Regions from separate parts of the Homo sapiens genome. Here regions 1 and 2 are each linked to region 3. The links are contacts of gene promoters, found by promoter capture Hi-C in blood cells and fetal thymus (Javierre and others, 2016). All regions are on one chromosome and are shown on one strand. Each heading gives the region's core, a stretch centred on a gene start or on the middle of the fragment in contact. The rest is flanking DNA. Distances are from core to core; before and after follow the strand shown.

What was found. The method cuts DNA at HindIII sites, captures the fragments that hold promoters and counts their contacts. A CHiCAGO score of 5 or more calls a contact.
Region 1: the fragment with the promoter of PCDHB11 here is called in contact with the fragment with the promoter of PCDHGA1 in region 3 in 2 of 17 cell types (endothelial precursors and M1 macrophages); the score reaches 5.5 in endothelial precursors.
Region 2: a contact is called between the fragment with the promoter of PCDHGC4 here and the fragment with the promoter of PCDHGA1 in region 3, in 8 of 17 cell types (naive CD4 T cells, naive CD8 T cells, total B cells and 5 more). The highest score is 7.0, in naive CD4 T cells.

The regions. Positions count from the first base shown.
Region 1 is chr5:141,197,913-141,201,331 of GRCh38, forward strand. PCDHB11 (protocadherin beta 11) reads left to right here and starts at 1,715. Exons shown (of 1, transcript NM_018931.3): 1 at 1,715-3,419. The coding sequence starts at 1,863. It also overlaps PCDHB@. The HindIII fragment of the contact is 6,869 bases long and covers 53-3,419 here.
Region 2 is chr5:141,483,613-141,487,128 of GRCh38, forward strand. It overlaps PCDHGC4 (protocadherin gamma subfamily C, 4), which reads left to right and starts at 1,418. Exons shown (of 4, transcript NM_018928.3): 1 at 1,418-3,516. The coding sequence starts at 1,562. All of the region lies in intron 1 of PCDHGA1 (protocadherin gamma subfamily A, 1), which reads left to right. All of the region lies in intron 1 of PCDHGA2 (protocadherin gamma subfamily A, 2), which reads left to right. All of the region lies in intron 1 of PCDHGA3 (protocadherin gamma subfamily A, 3), which reads left to right. It also overlaps PCDHGB1, PCDHGA4, PCDHGB2, PCDHGA5, PCDHGB3 and PCDHGA6, and 12 more genes. RefSeq lists a silencer at 1,289-1,516. The HindIII fragment of the contact is 2,008 bases long and covers 455-2,462 here.
Region 3 is chr5:141,328,824-141,332,632 of GRCh38, forward strand. PCDHGA1 (protocadherin gamma subfamily A, 1) reads left to right here and starts at 1,691. Exons shown (of 4, transcript NM_018912.3): 1 at 1,691-3,809. The coding sequence starts at 1,862. It also overlaps PCDHG@. The HindIII fragment of the contact is 2,043 bases long and covers 162-2,204 here.

The sequences.
Region 1 (3,419 bases), core at 465-2,964, 130 kb before region 3:
ACTGGAGATAGTATAATTTCTCCAGAATATAATCTAATTTCTCCAGAGTATAAGCTTTCCATTCTCTGGCTCTCAGTTATTTTCTTGTCTCTGTATGATGGTGAAAAGACCAGAGAATTCAACTATCCTACATACATACTTTCAACTAATAACTTCTTTTTTAAGCCCTTACTTGACTTCAGCCTTCTTATACACCTGGTTCCTCCAAGTCTGGTACCTACTAGGATTGTGTAGGGAAAACCCAGTAGTTTATTTTTAGTATCTCCAATGAAGGAACTTTATTTTAGACATTTCTTGGAACTATTGTCAATTGCTCTTTCATCTGCTTTCTATCATCAAATAATTTGTGTATTTACTTATGTATTCTTAGTCTTTGTGAATTCATACCTTTTATTACTTTTCTGTCATTTTAGAGAGGGGTTAAGAAGAAGGAAGGATAATTGTATAGTCAATCCACATACTATTCAATTTCTACTCTTCTGCACTGATAATTTTTCAACCATGTATCTAGTTCACATTTTTGTGAATGTAATTTGAAATTAGAATTTTTAAAAGCAGACTTCTTAGATGTCCTCCATTATTGAGAGTACTTTGAGATGTCTAACAGTGGATACCATTGGTAGTTTCCAAGCACCTATTCCAACTATCTCCCTCATTATGCCATGCACTTTGGCTAGGACTGAAACCACCTCAAGTTTAAGGGGCAATCTCTGCCTGGATTAAAACAAAGGGTCAAAGATGGAGTCTTTAGATTCTGGGACTATAATCTCTACCTTTAATCCTATACATCTTGAGACACTGATTTCTTCAGTAACAGGCTGAAGTGCTCTCAGTTGGTCTAATCAGAATGAAGGCTAAGATTTTGTTCTATTATTGAGGAAGAAAATATCTCTCATTCTGTCTTCTTGAGCTGAAAAACAAAGCAGATAGCCATAGATGTTGCTGGAATAAATCTTGGGAAACTGAGGGAGGGCAGTCTTAGAAATAAGCCTGCTTTAAATGAAACTAACATGCTTGTGCTTGTGTATTTATTATTTTTTGAGAAGCTGGAACTAAATCAAGGATTCTCATAATGTGTTCTACTCCCAATATCTTACTTTACTTTCTAGCAGTTCACAATTCCTTGCTACCAAGGAAATCTATATAAATGCCTTCTTGTGCTATCATAACTATCAAAGTATGTCCCATCTCATGGTTAATCCAGTTTCATATCCTCTGAGAGGACTTCTAAAATGACCCATGTATAGTTTGCCTTTTCATTACCACCTAAGGAAAGTCAAGTAGTGATAGAATTTTGTACAGCTTAAAAATATTATGGTTGTTTTATGTTTCCAGTCTTCTCAGAAAGATTACAAACCACTGGGAGCCAGGAATCACATCTTGTATTTCTGTATTCACCACAACTAAGCACGTTTGGTTGTATGGAGAAGGGGGAAAGATAAATGCTTTAAGATGAATATTAACAGCATATCAAACTAAAGAGAATATGAAATAATTATTACAGAACGTGCAATATATTTGTAATCACTTGAACACAATGAATAAAACAATATTTGTTTCCGGAGGACATATAAGTGAATGGAATTTAGGTAGCTTTCACCAAACTGTGAAAATCTATGGAGACACTTGGTGGCGCTGCAGGATAACATCGTGAAAAATATATTCACTGGATGGCGTTGTGAACACTGATATCCAGTGCACACAGAGAATCAGAAGACAGAAACAACAAGCCTTCAAGAGGGTGACCTGGAAACCATTCAACAGGGTTAAAATCCTTAGACCACAGAGGATTTGGTGGACAAGTCAGAGACGCGTTCCGCAGAGCTGAAGCCTTTCTTCAAGAAGCCTACAAGAAAGGAACTATGGAGAACCAAGGGACACGCACTCAGCAGATAAGGCAAGTCCTGCTTCTCTTTGTTTTGCTCGGAATGTCTCAGGCGGGCTCTGAAACCTGGAGCTTTTCTGTGGCAGAAGAAATGCAGAGCGGGAGTTTTGTAGGCAATCTGGCAAAGGACCTGGGGCTGAAGGTGAGAGAACTGTCCTCACGGGGGGCTCGGGTGGTCTCTAATGATAAGAAACAGCGTTTGCAGCTGGACATAAACACTGGGGATTTGCTCTTAAGTGAAACACTAGACAGGGAGGAGCTCTGCGGTTCCATCGAGCCTTGCGTGCTACATTTGCAGGTGTTAATGCAAAACCCCACGCAGTTTTTACAAATTGAGCTTCAGGTCAGGGATATAAATGATCACTCTCCCATCTTCTCGGAAAAACAAATGCTCCTAGAAATCCCAGAGAACAGTCCCGTTGGTGCTGTGTTCTTACTAGAAAGTGCGAAGGATTTAGATGTAGGAATCAATGCTGTAAAAAGCTACACAATAAGCCCCAACTCTCATTTTCACATTAAAATGAGAGTCATTCCAGACAATAGGAAATACCCCGAGTTAGTTCTGGACAAGGCGCTGGATTATGAAGAGCTCCCGGAGCTCAGTTTCATCCTCTCTGCTCTGGATGGTGGGTCCCCTCCCAGGTCTGGAACTGCCTTGGTCAGGGTGGTGGTTGTGGACATTAATGACAACTCCCCTGAATTTGAGCAGGCTTTTTATGAGGTGAAGATTCGGGAGAATAGCATCCTTGGCTCGCTGATTTTGATTGTCTCAGCTTGGGATTTAGACTCTGGAACAAATGGTGAAATATGCTATACCTTTTCCCATGCCTCAGAAGATATTCGCAAGACATTTGAAATTAATCAAAAGTCTGGAGAAATTACTTTAAGAGCACCTCTGGATTTTGAAACGATTGAGTCATACTCAATAATCATTCAAGCCACAGATGGGGGAGGACTTTTTGGAAAATCTACAGTCATAATTCACGTGATAGATGTAAATGACAATGCTCCTGAAATCACTGTGTCATCAATTACCAGTCCAATCCCAGAAAATACGCCAGAGACCGTGGTTATGGTTTTTAGTATCCAAGATATAGACTCTGGGGACAACGGAAGAATTGTTTGTTCCATTCCGGAAGACCTCCCATTCGTGCTAAAATCTTCAGTTGAGAATTACTACACGTTGGAAACAGAGAGACCACTGGACAGAGAGAGCACAGCCGAGTACAATATCACCATCACCGTCACCGACTTGGGGATACCCAGGCTGAAAACCGAGCACAACACAACTGTGTTGGTCTCTGACGTCAATGACAACGCCCCCACCTTCACCCAAACCTCCTACACCCTGTTCGTCCGCGAGAACAACAGCCCCGCCCTGCACATCGGCAGTGTCAGCGCTACAGACAGAGACTCAGGCACCAACGCCCAGGTCAACTACTCGCTACTCCCGCCCCAGGACCTGCACCTGCCCCTCGCCTCCCTGGTCTCCATCAACACAGACAACGGCCACCTGTTCGCCCTCAGGTCGCTG
Region 2 (3,516 bases), core at 168-2,667, 150 kb after region 3:
CATTCCCATGGGAGAAGGTATAGAGGGGTGTGTGTTTGTGTGTGTGTGTGTGTGTGTAAAAGAACACAGAAAGCCAGATTCCTCTTTTTGACACCAGAATATTGGTTCCCACCATAGTCAAAAGGATATTCCTGAGGATCGAGGCTTGGAAAAATATTGGGGAAGGATAAGAACTCCAGTTGTTGCTGCTTTTTTTGGCAGCCAGTGTAACCTAGGTAAGGACTTGGTTGAATTAAGAAATTTCATGTCCAGATCAGGATGGATTTTTCTATTTCTCTGAGCTCTGGTGTGTTTCCCACTCAGATTGCAGGTCGTAGGTACCTACGGTGTGAATTGTGTTGTGTTTCTGTGCTTGTGCAAGGGAGTAGCTAGGTTGCTGGGAGGTCTGGATGAGGGTGGGGGTGGGGTGAGATCAAGTCTCCAGCTCCAAGAGGTCCCCTGGGGCTAAGTGAAAAGCTTGCTCTTTTGAAATGGTCTTCGTTGGTAATTAACAAAAGATCAAGAATACCTTGGTGTCAGATAAAGGGAATTTGTAGGCACAATGCTGTTGGTAGCTGATCTCAATCATTCAAGGAAGCTATTAAATCTATGAACATTAGCATTCTGCCAGGTAAAGAGATCTGGTCCTTAGCACCTCCCAGACACACTGATTCTTTACTGTTTTGAAACATCTCCCTCTCCTGGCTTCCTCCACCCCGCTTCCATACTGTCCTTGAAATCAATGAATGGTAATTTAGTGTATCTAGTGTATCACTAGCAAATGTCTGAATAAGAAAGGTTTGGTTTCCGCTGTGTCTCCTGTTACAATGAGAACATGTACTGCATAAATTTAATTGGCTACGTTAATGTGTAAGCCTTTTCTGCAAAGAGATGGATCCGTTTCTGAATATTCTGCAGAAGGGCAGAGTTTTGAGTATATGGCAGTGGTTCTAATTAGCAGTTGCTCCAATACAATCAGACTGAGACGGAAGCTACTCATTTAGAATACTGGTTGATGACAACACTGGCTTGAACAAAGTGACCACTCTCCAATGGCTACTCTCCCTCTCAGTGGGCCGCAGGTTGCTAGGGCTCAGGCTGTGGCTGTTTTCCCCGCCGAAAAGGGGCGGGGTCAGTCGGTGTGTTAGGAAAAAAAATGTATATATATATATATGTTGTCTGCCTCCCCACAGAGATAACAACCCGTGGAAAAACATGCCGTTGAGCGGGAGGAAGGCGAAAAGATAGGCTGGGTTTTTTGGGGGGTGGGGGAGCGTGGAGGATAGGGTGGGCTTTTTCCCCTCCAATGCTGCGACGCATTAACCCTGCTGCTGTTGGGACGTTCTCTGCTCAGCCTATTGGCTGAGCCCGGGAGCCGCTGTCTGCCAATCGGGTGGTGAAAGGCAGACAAATCTACCCCGCCACCAGCAAAAACGGCGCGTAACCCTTGCGGCGCCGGCCGAACCGCGCCAGAGCTGGCGCGGGGAAAGGGAGATAGGTGTCTCCAGCTGCTGTGGCTGTTTGGGGCGGGTCGGCTTCATCCGCGTCTCAGGAGCAAGTAGAGAATTAGCGGGCGGCAGCAATGCTCCGCAAGGTGAGAAGCTGGACAGAAATCTGGCGGTGGGCTACCCTTTTGTTCCTCTTTTACCACCTGGGTTACGTTTGTGGGCAGATCCGCTACCCGGTCCCAGAGGAGTCACAGGAAGGGACTTTTGTAGGGAATGTCGCTCAAGATTTCCTGCTGGATACGGACAGTCTGTCAGCTCGCAGGCTGCAGGTCGCTGGAGAGGTGAACCAAAGACACTTCCGTGTGGATTTGGACAGCGGAGCCCTGCTCATCAAGAACCCAATCGACCGAGAGGCACTGTGTGGGCTCAGTGCCAGCTGCATCGTGCCCCTGGAGTTTGTCACCGAAGGTCCTTTGGAAATGTACCGAGCAGAGGTAGAGATCGTAGATGTGAATGATCACGCCCCCCGTTTTCCGCGGCAGCAGCTGGACTTGGAAATTGGGGAGGCAGCTCCTCCAGGACAGCGTTTCCCGTTGGAAAAGGCTCAGGATGCAGATGTGGGGAGCAATTCGATTAGCAGCTATAGGCTGAGCTCCAATGAACACTTTGCACTGGATGTGAAGAAGCGCAGCGACGGCAGCCTGGTCCCAGAGCTGCTCCTGGAGAAGCCTTTGGATCGAGAGAAGCAATCGGACTACCGCCTGGTGCTGACTGCTGTCGATGGAGGGAACCCGCCGAGATCTGGCACCGCAGAGCTCCGGGTATCCGTGCTGGACGTAAACGACAACGCCCCAGCCTTCCAGCAATCCAGCTACAGGATTAGTGTGTTGGAGAGCGCACCAGCGGGCATGGTGCTCATCCAGCTCAATGCCTCAGACCCGGACCTGGGTCCCAGTGGTAACGTCACCTTTTATTTCAGTGGTCATACCCCTGATCGTGTAAGAAACCTCTTTAGCCTGCACCCCACTACTGGAAAGCTTACTCTTTTGGGGCCCCTAGACTTTGAGAGTGAGAATTACTATGAATTTGATGTGCGGGCTCGCGATGGGGGTTCTCCAGCCATGGAGCAACATTGCAGCCTTCGAGTGGATCTGCTGGACGTAAATGACAATGCCCCTTACATCACAGTGACCTCAGAGCTTGGAACCCTCCCCGAGAGTGCAGAACCTGGCACTGTGGTGGCACTTATCAGTGTGCAGGATCCAGACTCAGGGTCAAACGGAGATGTGAGCCTCCGCATTCCTGACCACTTGCCATTTGCCCTCAAGTCTGCCTTCAGGAACCAGTTCTCCCTGGTGACTGCTGGACCCTTGGATCGAGAGGCCAAATCTAGCTATGACATCATGGTCACTGCTTCTGATGCTGGGAACCCTCCTCTCAGTACCCACAGAACTATTTTCCTCAATATTTCAGATGTGAATGATAATCCACCCTCTTTCTTTCAGAGGTCACATGAGGTGTTTGTTCCTGAGAACAATCGCCCAGGGGACCTGCTTTGCTCCCTTGCAGCCTCTGACCCAGACTCTGGCTTGAATGCGCTTATCTCCTACTCACTCCTGGAGCCCAGGAATCGAGATGTATCAGCTTCCTCTTTCATCTCTCTGAACCCCCAGACAGGAGCTGTTCATGCTACTCGATCCTTTGACTATGAGCAAACCCAGACACTGCAGTTTGAGGTGCAGGCCCGGGATCGGGGCAACCCACCCCTTAGCAGCACTGTAACAGTTCGTCTATTTGTGCTGGACCTCAATGACAATGCTCCAGCTGTGCTCCGTCCTCGGGCCCGGCCTGGTTCCTTATGTCCCCAAGCACTGCCTCCATCAGTTGGTGCTGGCCACCTAATCACAAAGGTGACTGCTGTGGACTTGGATTCAGGTTACAATGCTTGGGTTTCCTATCAGCTCCTGGAGGCCCCAGATCCCAGCCTGTTTGCAGTCTCTCGATATGCTGGGGAGGTGCGGACGGCTGTTCCTATCCCAGCTGACCTCCCACCACAGAAGCTGGTCATTGTGGTAAAGGATAGTGGTAG
Region 3 (3,809 bases), core at 441-2,940:
TGCCAGCAATGAAGCTTTGTTTTATTTTTGTTTTTGTAGAAACGGGGTTCACTATATTGACCAAGCTGGTCTCAAACTCCTGGCCTCAAGTAATCTGCCCACCTTGGCCTCCCAAAGTGCTGGGATTGCAGGCGTGAGCCACTGTGTGTGGGCAGCAATGAAGCTTTAAATGTTGCATTTGATTCAAATGTATTTGTGTGATATTTTAACATTTTTATTTTATACTTACCATCCTTTTATAAATCACTCCTGCGTGTTTTTGGTTGCTGAAAGTAGGGAGCTCTACAGGTTTACTTACTAGTTCTTATGTATATTTTAATTTACCTCATTAGCTCACAATTTCTTTGGGGAAAAGTTTATGCCTATTAATGTGTATTCTGAAAAGTTACATTCTCTGTTAAAGAGTTACTTCCTTGCAATATTGAAGATGATTTATTGCACCTTTAAATTTCTACTCTTTGGCTCCATGTACTTGTCTTTGAGAAGCTGAGAAACTGTAGATTTGGTTAAGAACTAAAGTTCTCTTTCCAAAAACTATTATTGAGACCTTTCATTGTTTTCTTTCTTTCCTCATTTTTAACTTTTCTCAGTCATGGTGTCCATGGGTTGGCTGGCCGAATTTGTTCCTGAAATTATCAGACTCTGGAGTACAGATAGCATGCTTCTCTAACTTTGGGGTAAAGATAAGTAAGTCACTCTAAGCCTGAGACATTTTAATTAGTAACCCTTTGCTAATAGTGCAGTGATTAAAAAAAAAAGAAGGCCACATCCTCAACTGGTTAAAAAATACTGTTAAGAGAAAACCAACTTCTCTTGGAGAAAATATTAAGTGCGATTATAGAGGAATACATATTATAAGAGCCTATCTAAAAATAAAGATGAGACCATTTTTCTTTTCAGCTGTGAAGAATAATATCATAGACTTTGTCTCTGAAATTTGAAATCTAAATTATATATTCATGTGACTTTTCAATGAAATTCCAAGAGCCCAGTTTTATTTTTTTCAAAATATATTGCCTTTGGTGAATCTTAAGAATTTTTTAAAAACCCACATAATGCAAAGACACTTCAAAAAAAAAAAAGAGGAAAAATAAGGATAGGGTTAAACCATGCTCTTCAAAATCCCAAGGTTTCTGATAAATATTCAAATCATAATGGGAAGGAAATGGGATGGTATGATTTTTTTAAAGTCTAGCTTATATTCTAAAAGATTATTTTTCCCTCTAATACTTTTCACCCTCCAGTCAAAGGGGAGCTGCTCTATGTGGCCTGGGAAATTACCAAGTGGTCAAACTTTACTACAGAAAAAGTGGAGAGATGATTTTGTCCTCATTGTAATGTTAGGTTTTTACTATAATTCCCTGAATAGCAAACTTGGAAAGCAGATAACATGGGAATACTTGGATTCTCCTGTATATTTCAATTTGGTGACATTTAGGCACATTTAAAGAAGTGAACATATAGTTTCTCTTTTTCATACATATATTGTAGAATTATTTCCTTGACAATAGACTAAAACTTAAGAAAATAACAAGTTAATGAGAAGGTTTTCAGTATTTGCTAGGAATGCAGTAACTGGTTAGGACTGTGGGCGCCGCTGTTCACTAATCTGGTAGATACAGGCAGTACACACAGGTCAGGAGGAGGAAAAAAAAAAAAAAGAAAAAGAAAAAAGCTCTCGTGCCTCTTAGAACCTCCATAACCGCCAGATTGAAAACTGACTGTCCAAGACTGCCTAAATCCTACTTCTGGATGACTCTCCAGTCAGAATTCTCCTGAAAATTGGGTTAATTTCAGCTCAGAAAAGCAGAAACGATACCCTTGGTACTGGACTGGAAGAAAACTACGAAGTGAGAGAGCCATGAAGATTCAGAAAAAGCTGACTGGCTGCAGCAGGCTGATGCTTCTGTGTCTTTCTCTGGAGCTGCTGTTGGAAGCTGGGGCTGGGAATATTCACTACTCAGTGCCGGAAGAGACAGACAAAGGTTCCTTCGTAGGCAACATCGCCAAGGACCTAGGGCTGCAACCCCAGGAGCTGGCAGATGGCGGAGTCCGCATCGTCTCCAGAGGTAGGATGCCGCTTTTCGCTCTGAATCCTAGAAGTGGCAGCTTGATCACCGCGCGCAGGATAGACCGGGAGGAGCTCTGCGCTCAGAGCATGCCGTGTCTCGTGAGTTTTAATATCCTTGTTGAGGATAAAATGAAGCTTTTTCCTGTTGAAGTAGAAATAATTGATATTAATGACAACACTCCCCAATTCCAGTTAGAGGAACTGGAGTTTAAAATGAATGAAATAACGACTCCAGGTACCAGAGTCTCATTGCCTTTTGGGCAAGACCTTGATGTGGGTATGAACTCACTCCAGAGCTACCAACTCAGCTCTAACCCTCATTTCTCCCTGGATGTGCAACAGGGAGCCGATGGGCCTCAACATCCAGAGATGGTGCTGCAGAGTCCCTTAGACAGAGAAGAAGAAGCTGTCCACCACCTCATCCTCACAGCTTCTGATGGGGGTGAACCAGTCCGTTCAGGGACCCTCAGAATTTACATTCAGGTGGTGGATGCAAATGACAATCCTCCAGCATTTACTCAGGCACAATACCATATAAATGTCCCCGAAAACGTGCCGCTGGGTACTCAGCTGCTCATGGTAAATGCCACTGACCCTGATGAGGGAGCCAATGGGGAAGTAACGTACTCCTTTCACAATGTAGACCACAGAGTGGCCCAAATATTTCGTTTAGATTCTTACACAGGAGAAATATCAAATAAAGAACCACTAGATTTCGAAGAATACAAAATGTATTCAATGGAAGTTCAAGCCCAGGATGGTGCGGGGCTCATGGCTAAAGTTAAGGTACTGATCAAAGTTTTGGATGTAAATGATAATGCCCCAGAAGTGACCATCACCTCTGTCACCACTGCAGTTCCAGAAAACTTTCCTCCTGGGACCATAATTGCTCTTATCAGTGTGCATGACCAGGACTCAGGAGACAATGGCTACACCACATGTTTCATTCCTGGAAATTTACCCTTTAAATTGGAAAAGTTAGTTGATAATTATTACCGTTTAGTGACTGAAAGAACACTGGACAGAGAACTTATCTCTGGGTACAACATCACAATAACAGCAATAGACCAAGGAACTCCAGCTCTATCTACTGAAACTCACATTTCACTACTAGTGACAGATATCAATGACAACTCCCCAGTCTTCCATCAGGACTCCTACTCTGCCTACATTCCCGAAAACAACCCCAGAGGAGCCTCCATCTTCTCTGTGAGGGCCCACGACTTGGACAGCAATGAGAATGCACAAATCACTTACTCCCTAATAGAGGACACTATCCAGGGGGCACCCCTATCTGCCTACCTCTCCATCAACTCCGACACTGGGGTCCTGTATGCGCTGCGATCCTTCGACTATGAGCAGTTCCGGGACATGCAACTGAAAGTGATGGCGCGGGACAGTGGGGATCCGCCCCTCAGCAGCAACGTGTCTCTCAGCCTATTCCTGCTGGACCAGAACGACAACGCGCCCGAGATCCTGTACCCCGCCCTCCCCACAGATGGTTCTACCGGCGTGGAGCTGGCGCCCCTCTCCGCAGAGCCCGGCTACCTGGTGACCAAGGTGGTGGCGGTGGACAGAGACTCGGGCCAGAACGCCTGGCTGTCCTACCGCCTGCTCAAGGCCAGCGAGCCGGGACTCTTCTCGGTGGGTCTGCACACGGGCGAGGTGCGCACGGCGCGAGCCCTGCTGGACAGAGACGCGCTCAAGCAGAGTCTCGTGGTGGCCGTCCAGGACCACG